2 separate regions of the Homo sapiens genome follow, and region 2 is linked to region 1. The links are contacts of gene promoters, found by promoter capture Hi-C in blood cells and fetal thymus (Javierre and others, 2016). All regions are on one chromosome and are shown on one strand. The core of a region is centred on a gene start or on the middle of the fragment in contact, and the rest is flanking DNA. Distances in the headings are between cores, read along the strand shown.

Region 1 (5,864 bases), core at 1,798-4,297:
TGGCTGGCTGTTTTCCAGTCAGGGCTTCTTGAGCACTTCAGTCCTCAGAGGCAGTGCCCAAGAGCATTCTTGGTAGTAAGGGTTAACAGAAATCACATATTCAAAGGTGGCAGGGCTTCACACCATCACTCCATAACGAAAGTTTTTATGTTGATTTGTTTTTGCGTTAGCTTCTGGCAGGAGTTACTTGGTGCAGTAACACTGCCTATTTCCTGCTGATCAGAATTTCTAGGTGGCAGCCATATAGATCTGATTAATAAAAAAGGCAAATTATTATTTTTTAAAAATCATGTTCATTAGACAAAAATATTTCAAAACATGAGGGACAAGGTGATGAAAAAATCAGGAATTATTAAGTTAACAGATAGCTGAAGCTCCCCTCCAACTCTAAAAATCCCACGATTCTAAGCTGATGAAGTATGCTATTATGTTAATTTATTATACTCATCAGGTAACATCAACTTTTTTTTTTTTTTTTTTGATACAGAGTCTCACTCTGTTACCCAGGCTGGAGTGCAGTGGCGTGATTTAAGCTCACTGCAACCTTCGCCTCCTGGGTTCAGGCAATTTTTGTACCTTAGCCTCCCAGGTAGCTGGGATTACAGGCATGTGCCACCACACCCAACTAATTTTTGTATTTTTAGTAGAGACGGGATTTTGTCATGTTGGCCAGGCTGGTCTCGAACTCCTGACCTCAGGTGATCCACCCACCTTGGCCTCCCAAAGTGTTAGGATTACAGGCATTAGCCACCGCGCCCGCCCATATGAACATTTTAAAGGGAGATGTTTGTAATCTAATGATAAGATCAATTGTAAAAATGCATGAATAAATTTGGAGAGATCAGAATTTCAAGATCACTTGTTGAATGACATTGATGACCTTCCTAAAGGGTTGACCCAGTGGCCCTCCTCCCCTAGGCCTGGGATCACTTCAGCCTCAGAAACACCTGCCACTGTTTTAGAAACTTAATTGGCAATACACTTTGGCGGTGCCTTCAATGACATGGAAGCAGGGAGCGCCCCCATCACAGACCTTGCCCTCAGAAGGTTTTAGGGAACCCAACACTTTGAGGAGAGTCTTCTTAGATGTTTTCCTCCAAGACTGCAGCTCCTCACCCTTCCTTTCCACTGGTTTTAAATCTAATACCATAGGCAGGTTGAACCAAGGAGAGCACACCCAGACAAGCCCCTTTCCTCTGCCTCCCTCAGGGTCTCTACTTAGCTCTATCATTGTTGTTAGACCTGACCTACACTTCAGGGTTGGCTTGGCAGAGGCTTTTTGGGGAGCAGGGATAGTGTAAGAGGCAAAAAAAAACAAAAAACAAAAAACAAAAACAAAAACCCACACTCAACACACAACATTTCTGTGACCAGATGCAGTGGTGAGGGGCCCTGGGGGGTAAGTTCCTCAGACACCAAGCGATTCTCCAGTGGACATTGGCTAAGCATTCTATAATTCAATTCGATTCTGATTCTGACACTAGCTACCTGGAGGTAGTGTCAGATTCCATGGGGTAAGGGCTTGATCCCACTAGACTGCTCCTCTTCAGATGCCAATTGCAAGTAGTAGATTTCACCTATACTTCTTAGCAGCTATAAACTGGGGCTCCCACTACCCCCTCCTTTGGTCTGATTAATTTGCTGAGAAGGCTCACAGACCTCAAGGAAACATTTACCAGTTTATTATAAAGGATAGTACAAAGGGTACAAATGAACAGCCAGATGAAGAGATGGATAGGGCAAGGTGTCAGGGGTGCAGAGCTTCCATAACCTTTCTGGGCAAGACACCCTCCTGGCATCTCCACATGTTCAACAACCCTGAAGCTCATCAACTCTTGTTGTTCGAGCGTTTATAGAGTTTGATGTCCAGCTCCTCCCCTCCCCCTTTCCTGGAGGTTGAAGGGTGGGGATGAAAGTTCCAATCCTCCAATCACTTGGTCTCTCTGGTGACTGGCCCCATCCTAAGGTTATCTAGGGCCCCCATCCTAAATCACCTCCTTATTATAAACTCAGGTGTTATCAAAGAGACCCATTACGTATAACCCAGGAAATTCAAGGGTTTTAGGGGCTGTGTCAGGAACCAGGGACAAAGCCCAAATATATTTCATATTATAAATAAATAATATGATAGTTAGCTATGTCACACCCTCATCTCAGGAGTCCATGACGGCGGTATAAGATCAAGAAGGTCTTAGCACATCTAGCTTCGAGAAGGCATTGGAAGTGAGGCTTTAAAGTTTCTGCAGAGTGGAAGGATTGGGGGTGGGGGTGGGGGAGGAGATCACCTGTTCCCAAATCCTTCAAATAATCTCTTGTTATCAGGGAGATTCTTTGATAACTTTGGCTTCACTCGGCAACTAGAATATTTCATTTAAAGGTCTGAACATTATAAAATCAAAGTATGATACAAACCGTTCTTCAAGACGCTTTCAAATTGACCCAAGACATGACCTCAACACCTTATACGGCGTTCAAATCTGCTTAATGTCCCTTTGGAAAAGTTTTCTCTCGTCTCTCTCTAAAAGACAACCGCACTTTCCCAAAGCTGTGCTCTTAAGAGTTGGTAAAGTGACAATTTGGTTTATCCAATAATCAGATTAATAAAGGTATACCATTTCTAAGGCACGAGAGCAGGAATCTTAAGCTGAGGTAGCCCTGGGACTAAATATGCCATCCTCTTGTATCAAGATGGAGAAGACGGCCGAGGTTCAGGGAAAGAGCCCAGTGGAAGAACCCAACCTAGTGAGAGGAAAACGGGCACCTGGTGAAGGCCCCGGCCTCTAAGCTAGGGATGAGGGGACAGGCCTCTGCCTAGCCTGAGACAGGAGTAGGAAACTGAGGCATTCACACTTTTATGTGGCGATCACAGTTCCTGCAGACTGTAGCAGAGCTGGGGAGCAGGAACCAGAGGTATAGTCCCACGCCCACCCACTCTCCCCTCCCCTCCCTCCGCGGCCCCGCCTCCAACCAGCCGCTTCCGGTCGCGGGGAGGGTCGCCTGCGGGCTCCAGCTGCGCCTGCGCAGGAAGGGCGGGTCAGCGCGCCGGCGCAGTGCGGCGGTCACAGGCTGAGTGCTGCGGCGCGATCCTTGCTTCCCTGAGCGTTGGCCCGGGAGGAAAGAAGATGGTGCTGGATCTGGATTTGTTTCGGGTGGATAAAGGAGGGGACCCAGCCCTCATCCGAGAGACGCAGGAGAAGCGCTTCAAGGACCCGGGACTAGTGGACCAGCTGGTGAAGGCAGACAGCGAGTGGCGACGATGTAAGTACCGGGACGGGCGGGTTACCTCCTTGATGCTAAACCCAATTTTCTCTCTCAAATCCAGCCACCGCTCCTGAGGCCACAGCTTCCACCCTTCGTCAGACCCCCTCCCAGGGTGCGGTGGCTCCGAGGTTCTCCCCATCCCCGAAAACACAGCCTGGTCGCCGGGGTCATCCCACTTTCTCCTCCACCCGGGCGGAGCGAGGTCCCTTCCACGCGTGCTCAGTGCCGTTCGCTGCCAGTGTGCGTACGCACGCGCATCGGGAGCTGTCAAGCCTTCCTGCCCCAGGGGTTGCCAGAACATGCCGGGGCGGGAGGTTGTGGGGTCTACGCGGCTTTCCTAACACGAATCTTTGGTCCCCCCCAGTCTTTTTCTCATCTTCAGCAAGGCCAGAGTGGTTTTCCTTTGTTTTGATAGGATCAAAGGCTTCTCCTGAGACTGCGTCACTTCTGCAACACAGTAGATTCATTCCTTCGGTATCGGAAGCATTTCGGGGCGTTGGAGGCCGCTCTTGGCCAAAATAAATGACCCTGAAGCTTTTCGGAAGGCCATCCCCCGACCTATGGGCATACCTTTAAGAATTAGAAAAGTCTTTTCCGTGGTAGATCAAACGCGAGGGGAGTGAGGAGGCGAGCAAAAGATTGTAATGACTGAAGCTGTTTAATTGTGATTTGTGGACGTTTTCCTTTAAAGACATTGGCAGAGTTGGGCTAGAACCTGGAACTGCCGGATCTTGGAGTCATATCGGGCATCTATCATGAAGCCGAATAAAACCATAGAACCATCTGCCCATAAATCTCTGCCTGTATTAACTGGAGTGGTCGCTGGTTGGGCGGATGCTGTCAAGTACTTGTGATTTGATTTGTCTGATGCAATAGGTCTGCAACCATCTGGGAGCTAGGTCGATGACAGTACACTGCAAAGGCAGCCACTATCCAAGAGTGTGATGGATTTCTATTAGGAAAATTGATTTTCTCCTGTTTATAAGGATCTTGGATGTCAAAAGAATATTTGTTTAACTTGAGTTTTGTGCTGATTCTATGTCTTAGGCCCTCTATTGTAGTAGTTTGTTTGATTGTGAGATTCCACACTTGACCTGAAGTTTCGAGTTGCAATGGAATTTAATTTTGCCACATTTTTTGTTTAGGATAAAACTAGCCTGAGCACTGTTCTACTGAATCTGAAGTCAGGAGTATCAGATTTTTGTGTCAGTCCAGCCCTTAGCCAGTGCTAAATGACTTTGAATGTGTTAGCTAGTCTTTTGGGTATAATGTCCACATCTGAGGGATTTGTCCCTTATCTGAAAAGTAGATAGGTGGTGAGTTCTTCAGGGACAAGGATTCAATTTTATTCATACAGTATATATGTGGATATACATATACACATTTATACATAAAATCCCAGTACCTAGCACTGTACCTGGTCCTTGGTAAGGCCTTGATAAAGGTTTGTTAGAGGCGTGAATATTTTCTGTCTTCAGGGCACTTTATATTCTTTATGAAAAGCAGTTTATGTAGTTTATGTTATTGTTTTAAAAAACTTAATCCTAAATGTGAAGTCATTTCTTTTCTTTGTTTTGTTTTGTTTTGTTTTTGAGACGGAGTCTCTCATTATCACCCAGATTGGAGTGCAGTGGCACCATCTCGGCTCACTGCAACCTCCATCTCCCGGTTTCAAGAGATTATCATGCCTCAGCCTCCAAGTAGCTGGGACTACAGGTGTGCACCACCACACCCAGCTAATTTTTTTTTTTAGTTGAGATGGGAGTTTCACCATGTTGGCCAGGCTGGTCTCTAACTCCTGACCTCAAGTGATCCGCCTGCCTCAGCCTCCCAAAGTGCTGGGATTACAGGTGTGAGCCACCATGCCTGGCCAATAGTTTATTTCCAATGCATCTATTAATTTGATTCTTTTCTATTTGACAACCCTTTCCAATATTCTCTTTGCATCCAAATGGAATTTATGTTTTTTCCCAAGTTCCCAACTGCCCAAGGTAGACACTGGCAGATTTATATCAAGGTTCTTTGACATCTTGAACTTCAGATCAGAGGATGGAGTTCTTCTCTCATTGCCTTGAGCAAGGGCTTATAACCAGAGCCACATTAAGAACTCAGATCATGCTCCCTAATTGAGGACACATAGCAAGCTTCACCAAGCCCTCCACTACAACTATACCAATTTGTCTTCCTGTAGACTTACAAGGTACCACTAGGGTTCCTTTGGAGAACTCAGGAGTCCAGTATAACTTGGAGTGATAATACCACATTGGAACTCACAACTCTTCTAACTCCAGGGATTTGAATGTGATTTCTTCTTTTTAATTCAGAGTAGCGTAATGATCCTACACTTGGGCATATTTGTCTTGGCCCCACTCCCAAAGCAAATAGATTTCCATGTAACTGGAAATCTGCTGCAAACCCCAAGAATTTTATCCTCCCTCAAAAAGTGCTATCCTGAGTGGTTTTTTTTTTCTTTTTACTGTACATTGAAAATTGAAGTTGTTGTTTCCTTTTTTTTTAATTTGAGACAAGGTCTCACTGTGTCACCCAGGCATGATCACAGCTCACTGCAGCCTCAATCTCCCCAGGCTCAGATGATCCTCCTG
Region 2 (5,864 bases), core at 1,929-4,428, 260 kb after region 1:
GGGACAGTAGTATGGCCCATCTGGGGTGGCTTGGTAGAAGCTGGCCCCTCCAGCTATACCTCCACCAAGGCAGGAAGCCACTGGAAGTTAGCAACTAGGAAACAAGATTAGATGACTAGTTCAAAGGAGAAATGAAAAGCGTTCTAGGCATGTCTGATCTAGGTTGATGCAGGGGAATCTTTTTGAGTGTGTCTCTCCCTTGGGAAGGAAATTCAAGTCTATCTGTAAGCTAGAAGTTTCCTAAAGCCTGAATTGCAGAGGTTTTGTGTTAGTCATCTTAAGGAGGCTACCTGTGGTCCCCAAGTCATGCCCAATGGAGAGATCTGGCAACTGTCCATTTCCTGCCTCTTCATCTCCCTTGCAGACACCACTCAGTCAACCTTGTATTCATTTGGCTATTTGGTCCAGCAGCCTGAGGCTGGAAGATAAATGGAAGCCATGGGTTTCTACCTAGGAAGAACTTGATTAAAGGGGATCCTCACTCTCCCCCACTCCCGCACTTAATGTCTGCACCTGCGGGGAGTCACGGTTAGTTCTCGACTTTGGCCAGTTGAGGCCTTCTGACTCTCAAAGAGGCTTCACTCTCTCTCAGCTCTTTGCTATTTTCGCCTTCGGGTCCTGTGGCTCCTACAGCGGGGAGACAGGAGCAATGGTTCGCTGCAACAACGAAGCCAAGGACGTGAGCTCCATCATCGTTGCATTTGGCTATCCCTTCAGGTGAGCAAGAATTGGTTCCAACCCAGCACATCATCTCTCACTTGACTGGCAGGACCTGCTTGGTCTCTTCCTCCTCCAGAAACCTAAAAACCATTCATTGCGTGCCACTCCAGATTCAAATAGAATGACAAAACTTAGATCCTTTCTGCTTTTTAGCAATTTCAGACACATTGACCAGAGCAAAACGTAAGGGAAATACAGATTGATCACTGTTATAATAATGTTCCAGTCCATGGACAACCCATGGCAGGTCACACCAGCTCATACAGAAAGAGCCAATGCAGTTTGGGATGGAGGCTTACAGGAACCTGGACAAGCTGGACAGGTCTCTCTGACCCTCAGTAGCCTCCTCTCTGCCTTGAAGGTAGGGAAGCTTATTAGTACTTACATCCTAAAGAGTTGATGTGGGATCCTCAGCCAGTACGACCAGGATACAAGTGGGCACACCTTGACAGGGAGGTAGAAGTGATCTCTTTTCTGGGTATTTGAGAGCTTAGGAAGTAGGGAGCCCAGGTGTTCAGGGGAAAATGGGGATGAGGCTCACCTTTTCAGAAATTTCTAGTATCAGCACCCAAGTTATATTAACTGTCTCATATATAATAGGCTGTGTTTTTCTCTTTAATTTGTCCACTGTCTCATTGGAAAGCCCAATAAAGCCTGAGAATGGGTGATTCCAACCTTATCTTGGCCACTCTGGGCCTGCACTTTCCAGAGGCAGAATGAAGCTGATCTGCCTAGTGGTTTGGCTACCAGAAAGAGAAGAACTACATATATTGCAGTTGTGACCTAAAGGGCCCTGGAGACACTTGGGAATACATGGTCACCATGTCTGGGCAGGGTAGATGAGTGGGGTGGGTTGGGGAGCAGCTGAGGGGAAGGTAGAGTTTTACTGGAAATTTCGGGGGAGTTCCCATCTTAACTGCAAGGTTCCTTCCAGAAACTTGCCTCCTTACATGACCCCTTTCTTGGCTCTGTAAGAGTCCCCTGCTGAGAACTAGCACAGGACTACTTCTGGGCCAGGGAGAGAGAGGATTGCCTGAGCTCAGGATGGCCTCCCCTGCCACCTGCAGGTTGCACCGGATCCAATATGAGATGCCCCTCTGCGATGAAGAGTCCAGCTCCAAGACCATGCACCTCATGGGGGACTTCTCTGCACCCGCCGAGTTCTTCGTGACCCTTGGCATCTTTTCCTTCTTCTATACCATGGCTGCCCTAGTTATCTACCTGCGCTTCCACAACCTCTACACAGAGAACAAACGCTTCCCGCTGGTGGTGAGTCAGCACAGGCCAGAAGGAATGGGGTGGAGAAACAGATGTTTGTGAGGGGGTTGAGGTCAGAACTGGAGCAGAGGACAAGCATGGCGGCTTCCACCCCCATGGTGGAACCTCTGCCTCCATCAACCTCCCGTTGCTTGCTCCTGTTCACAGGAGGCACAATAGCACCATACACAAGCAGGCTCTGGAGTTAGACTGCCTGGGTTCAGATCCCAGCATGGCCCCTTACTTGCTGTGTGATCTCGGACAAGTTAAATAACCTCTCTAAATCGCAGTTTCCTTAACTATAAAATGGGGATAAAATAATACCTGCTTCATAGTTTTGTGTGTGTATGTGAAAAAATGAGAATGCATGTATCTAGTACATAGTTAGTCTCAATAAGCATTAGCGATTATTAATATTATTCCTCTTTACTCTCTTCCTATCCCAGGCATGCAAGGCGGAAGGGGTGCCTTAAGGGACCCCATTTGCGTCCTGCAGTCTGCCACTTGTATCTGAGCAATGGTGATCAAAGAAAAAGCTGGGAGGGAAGAGTGGGGAATTTAGGCTCCACTTGGGATGAGTGGGTTTTGGGGTGAGGCTGACCAACGATGCCTTGGTACACTGTTGCCAGATCTTAGATCTGAGGGCATTAGCAGGGCTAGCCTGAGTGGCAGGACTCCTTTGGGGGCAGTGAACAGATGCCTCAGGACCACCTGGGTTCTAGGTGTTGGGTAGGATGGGAAGAGGCAACTGTCCTGGCACCCTGGGATTGCCAGTATCATGGCAAGTGGAAAAGAAGCAAGGGAATCATGGGGCCTTTCTGAGTGTATTTCCCATCCCTCTGCTCCTCCCAGGACTTCTGTGTGACTGTCTCCTTCACCTTCTTCTGGCTGGTAGCTGCAGCTGCCTGGGGCAAGGGCCTGACCGATGTCAAGGGGGCCACACGACCATCCAGCTTGACAGCAGCCATGTCAGTGTGCCATGGAGAGGAAGCAGTGTGCAGTGCCGGGGCCACGCCCTCTATGGGCCTGGCCAACATCTCCGTGGTGAGACCTGTGGCCACTGCAGGAAGCAGCACCAGCCCTGCTGCCCAGGCCTGTCCCAGCTAGCAGGTCCTGAAAGGAAAGAGAGGGTGTCCCAGAGCTGGTGTCCCCTGCACCTGGAGCTGGTGCCCTCACTGCGCTTCATGCTGGCTGCTGGCTCCTGGCTGACCCTGAGAGGACATTTTGGGATGAGGGGAACCCAAAAGCCACTTAGCCTTCTGTTCCTTCCTCCTTCTGCACTCTGCCTCCAATTCCCTTCTCATTTCCCCACCTCTAGGCACGCTCTCTGTGATGTCTCCCCTCCTCCTGCCTGTTCTACACAATGTGTGTGAACACATAAAGGGGAGCCTGGGGCTGTGGCTGAGCTTGAAGCTGCGAGCAGACCCAGCATGAGTGGGAAGGGGCTTACTGTCACTCAGCCCTCCAGCCTGGAAAGGGGCTTTGGAGCAGTAGTGGGTCTGCTGGATGCATATGGATTTGGCCATCCCAGTTGTTAGAATGTTGAAATATGTCCATATCCATTGGTAAAGAGCTGAGGTCTTGAGCTTCTCAAATGCTGCCCGTCATCCCAGCCACCTCAGCCCTGCTCTGAAAATGACTTGTTCCCACATCTGAAATGTTTAATGGCTGGCACACCAGGAACACACGTCTGGAACTTGCTGGAACCCTGCTTATGGTTCCCCCCCAAAAAAATTTTATTGTAGAAATGTTCACAGGTACAACAAAGTTGAAAGAATTTTACAGTGAATACCCATGCACTCACCACCTAGACTGTGCCATTAACTTTTTACTAGACTTGCTTTATCACATATTTATTCACTTCTTCATCCATCAATCCGTCTTGTTTTTAGTGCATTTCAAAGATAATTTGGGACATCAGTACACTTCCCTCTAAGTACTTCCTGCTGTGAGGTTTTTAAAATATGTTGAATAACTATTTGAACATAGCCCTGGCTAGGTGCCTGATCACAGGGAAGGAGCACCTTGGACAGCTCCTGCCACACCTACCTGGCGGAAGGTGCTCCGAACAGGGCCTCACGCGTGCTGTGGGAGGCGCCCCAGGGCTGACTTTTGCTTGGCTCCTTGCTATGCTTTGCACGATGCTCCTCTAAAGGGTCAGATTCTGCTAGTGACCAAGCTACAGCTTGGGTGCATGGTGTGGACAGAATTAGACACTTTCACCTGGGATTCCCCTAAACAGTTGATGGTCCTGAGCCCTGCCTCTATACCGAGCTCTCTGTCTTAGTCTTTCTAGTCCTCTGTGCTTCTTCCCTGCACAAGCCCCAACCCCAACTGCAATAGGAACTCCCCCTCCCTGTTCCCACAATGACCCCCTGACTATTCTCACAAATTCCCCTGATGTCTTTGCAGCTCTTTGGCTTTATCAACTTCTTCCTGTGGGCCGGGAACTGTTGGTTTGTGTTCAAGGAGACCCCGTGGCATGGACAGGGCCAGGGCCAGGACCAGGACCAGGACCAGGACCAGGGCCAGGGTCCCAGCCAGGAGAGTGCAGCTGAGCAGGGAGCAGTGGAGAAGCAGTAAGCAGCCCCCCACCTGGCTATTCCCGAACTGGACAGCACCTCTTCAACCACCTCCGGCTTCCAGGACCTTTCTCTTCCTCCTCCTCCAATTCCCCTCCCCCATCATTCTGGTCTTTGAGCTTTGAGACGATGGGCAGGCATCAGCTGTTGGAAACCTGGGCAGCCCTCTCAGTGGCTTCCTATCCTCCTTCTTGCTGGAGCCATGAATGGCAGGAGCTCAGTGCTTCTTGTGCAGTGCCTGGACCCAGGTATCTTACTTGGGGTCTTACTTGTACCCTTACAGTCTCTGAGAACCAGCCTCTGCTGCAGGTGAGGGTTGGGGGCAGGAAACCAGTGCTCTGAGACTGGTTCCTAGCAGCCACCTTTCTGTCAACCTGTCCGGCTTCAACAATATTAGGGGGAAGGGAAATCAGCTAGTAGCCTTCCCCTCTGGTCCCTTGTGTGGAGGCCCCAATAGTGGTTTGGCGACCCCTCCTCAGTGGCTGTCATCTAGTCCCTGCGTCTGATCTCCAGTCATCCCATGACTCAGTGTGCCTTCCACTGTCTTCTCTGGCCTCTGCCTGCCCACAGAATCCACCATGTGTGAACCAGAGAGGTCCACCAGCCTAGAAAACAGCCCTTCAGAGGGTCCTGATGAGGCCTTCCTGGACTCAGCTGGGAGCAAGATAAATTGCAACTGAGTTGCAGCTTCAAGAAAGTAAAGCCAGTAAGCTTGCTGGCAGAATCAATTTCTTCTATCCCCTCAATCCTCCCACCCACCAGGCTGGGGCACTTTCCACCAACACTCTAAACTCTACTTTAGAAACGCCCTATCTTCCTCCCTGTCCTCCTTCTTGGTCTCACACTTGGGACTCAAAAATGTGGAGTCAGGACCTGCCTCCTAATCCCCTTACTTCTCTGTCCATCTCCCTTCCCCAGCATCGTGCATCTGAGGCATTTGAGATCCTTTTTGAAGTCTGTCCAGGCCTTCCTTTTATTCCTGTGGGGCCAGACAGGGGCTTAGGAAGGGCCAAAGGACCATCATGAGGCTAAGTTGCCCCAGAGCCCCAGGATGGATGGGCCCATTTTTTCCTTATTCCCTGCTCAGTTTTTTCCCCTGCTCCTTCTCTAGTCCTTCTTTCATATTTCTCCTTCTCATCTTGAAAACAGGATGTTCCCTCTTCCCTTGCTGTCCCATTTCTCCCCTGTGTCCTTATTTCTCCCAGTCTCTATCCCCTCTCAAGTCCAGGGCAGGCCGATGCTATTGGTGCTTCTTCACTTTGGGACCCAGTTCCATATTTGTCTTTAGTGTATATCCTCTTCCTG

The links. The method cuts DNA at HindIII sites, captures the fragments that hold promoters and counts their contacts. A CHiCAGO score of 5 or more calls a contact.
Region 2: a contact is called between a fragment that was not itself captured here and the fragment with the promoter of SARS1 in region 1, in 1 of 17 cell types (M2 macrophages). The highest score is 5.3, in M2 macrophages.

What each region holds. Positions count from the first base shown.
Region 1 is chr1:109,210,871-109,216,734 of GRCh38, forward strand. SARS1 (seryl-tRNA synthetase 1) reads left to right here and starts at 3,048. Exons shown (of 11, transcript NM_006513.4): 1 at 3,048-3,258. The coding sequence starts at 3,123. RefSeq lists a silencer at 2,842-3,061 and an enhancer at 3,112-3,471. The HindIII fragment of the contact is 5,942 bases long and covers 1-3,793 here.
Region 2 is chr1:109,474,989-109,480,852 of GRCh38, forward strand. SYPL2 (synaptophysin like 2) reads left to right here. Exons shown (of 6, transcript NM_001040709.2): 3 at 593-717; 4 at 1,788-1,989; 5 at 2,830-3,021; 6 at 4,390-5,864. The coding sequence ends at 4,560. Among named protein-coding and RNA genes, the nearest start is that of ATXN7L2, 6.0 kb to the right of the region's middle. RefSeq lists an enhancer at 2,545-3,064. The HindIII fragment of the contact is 4,180 bases long and covers 1,089-5,268 here.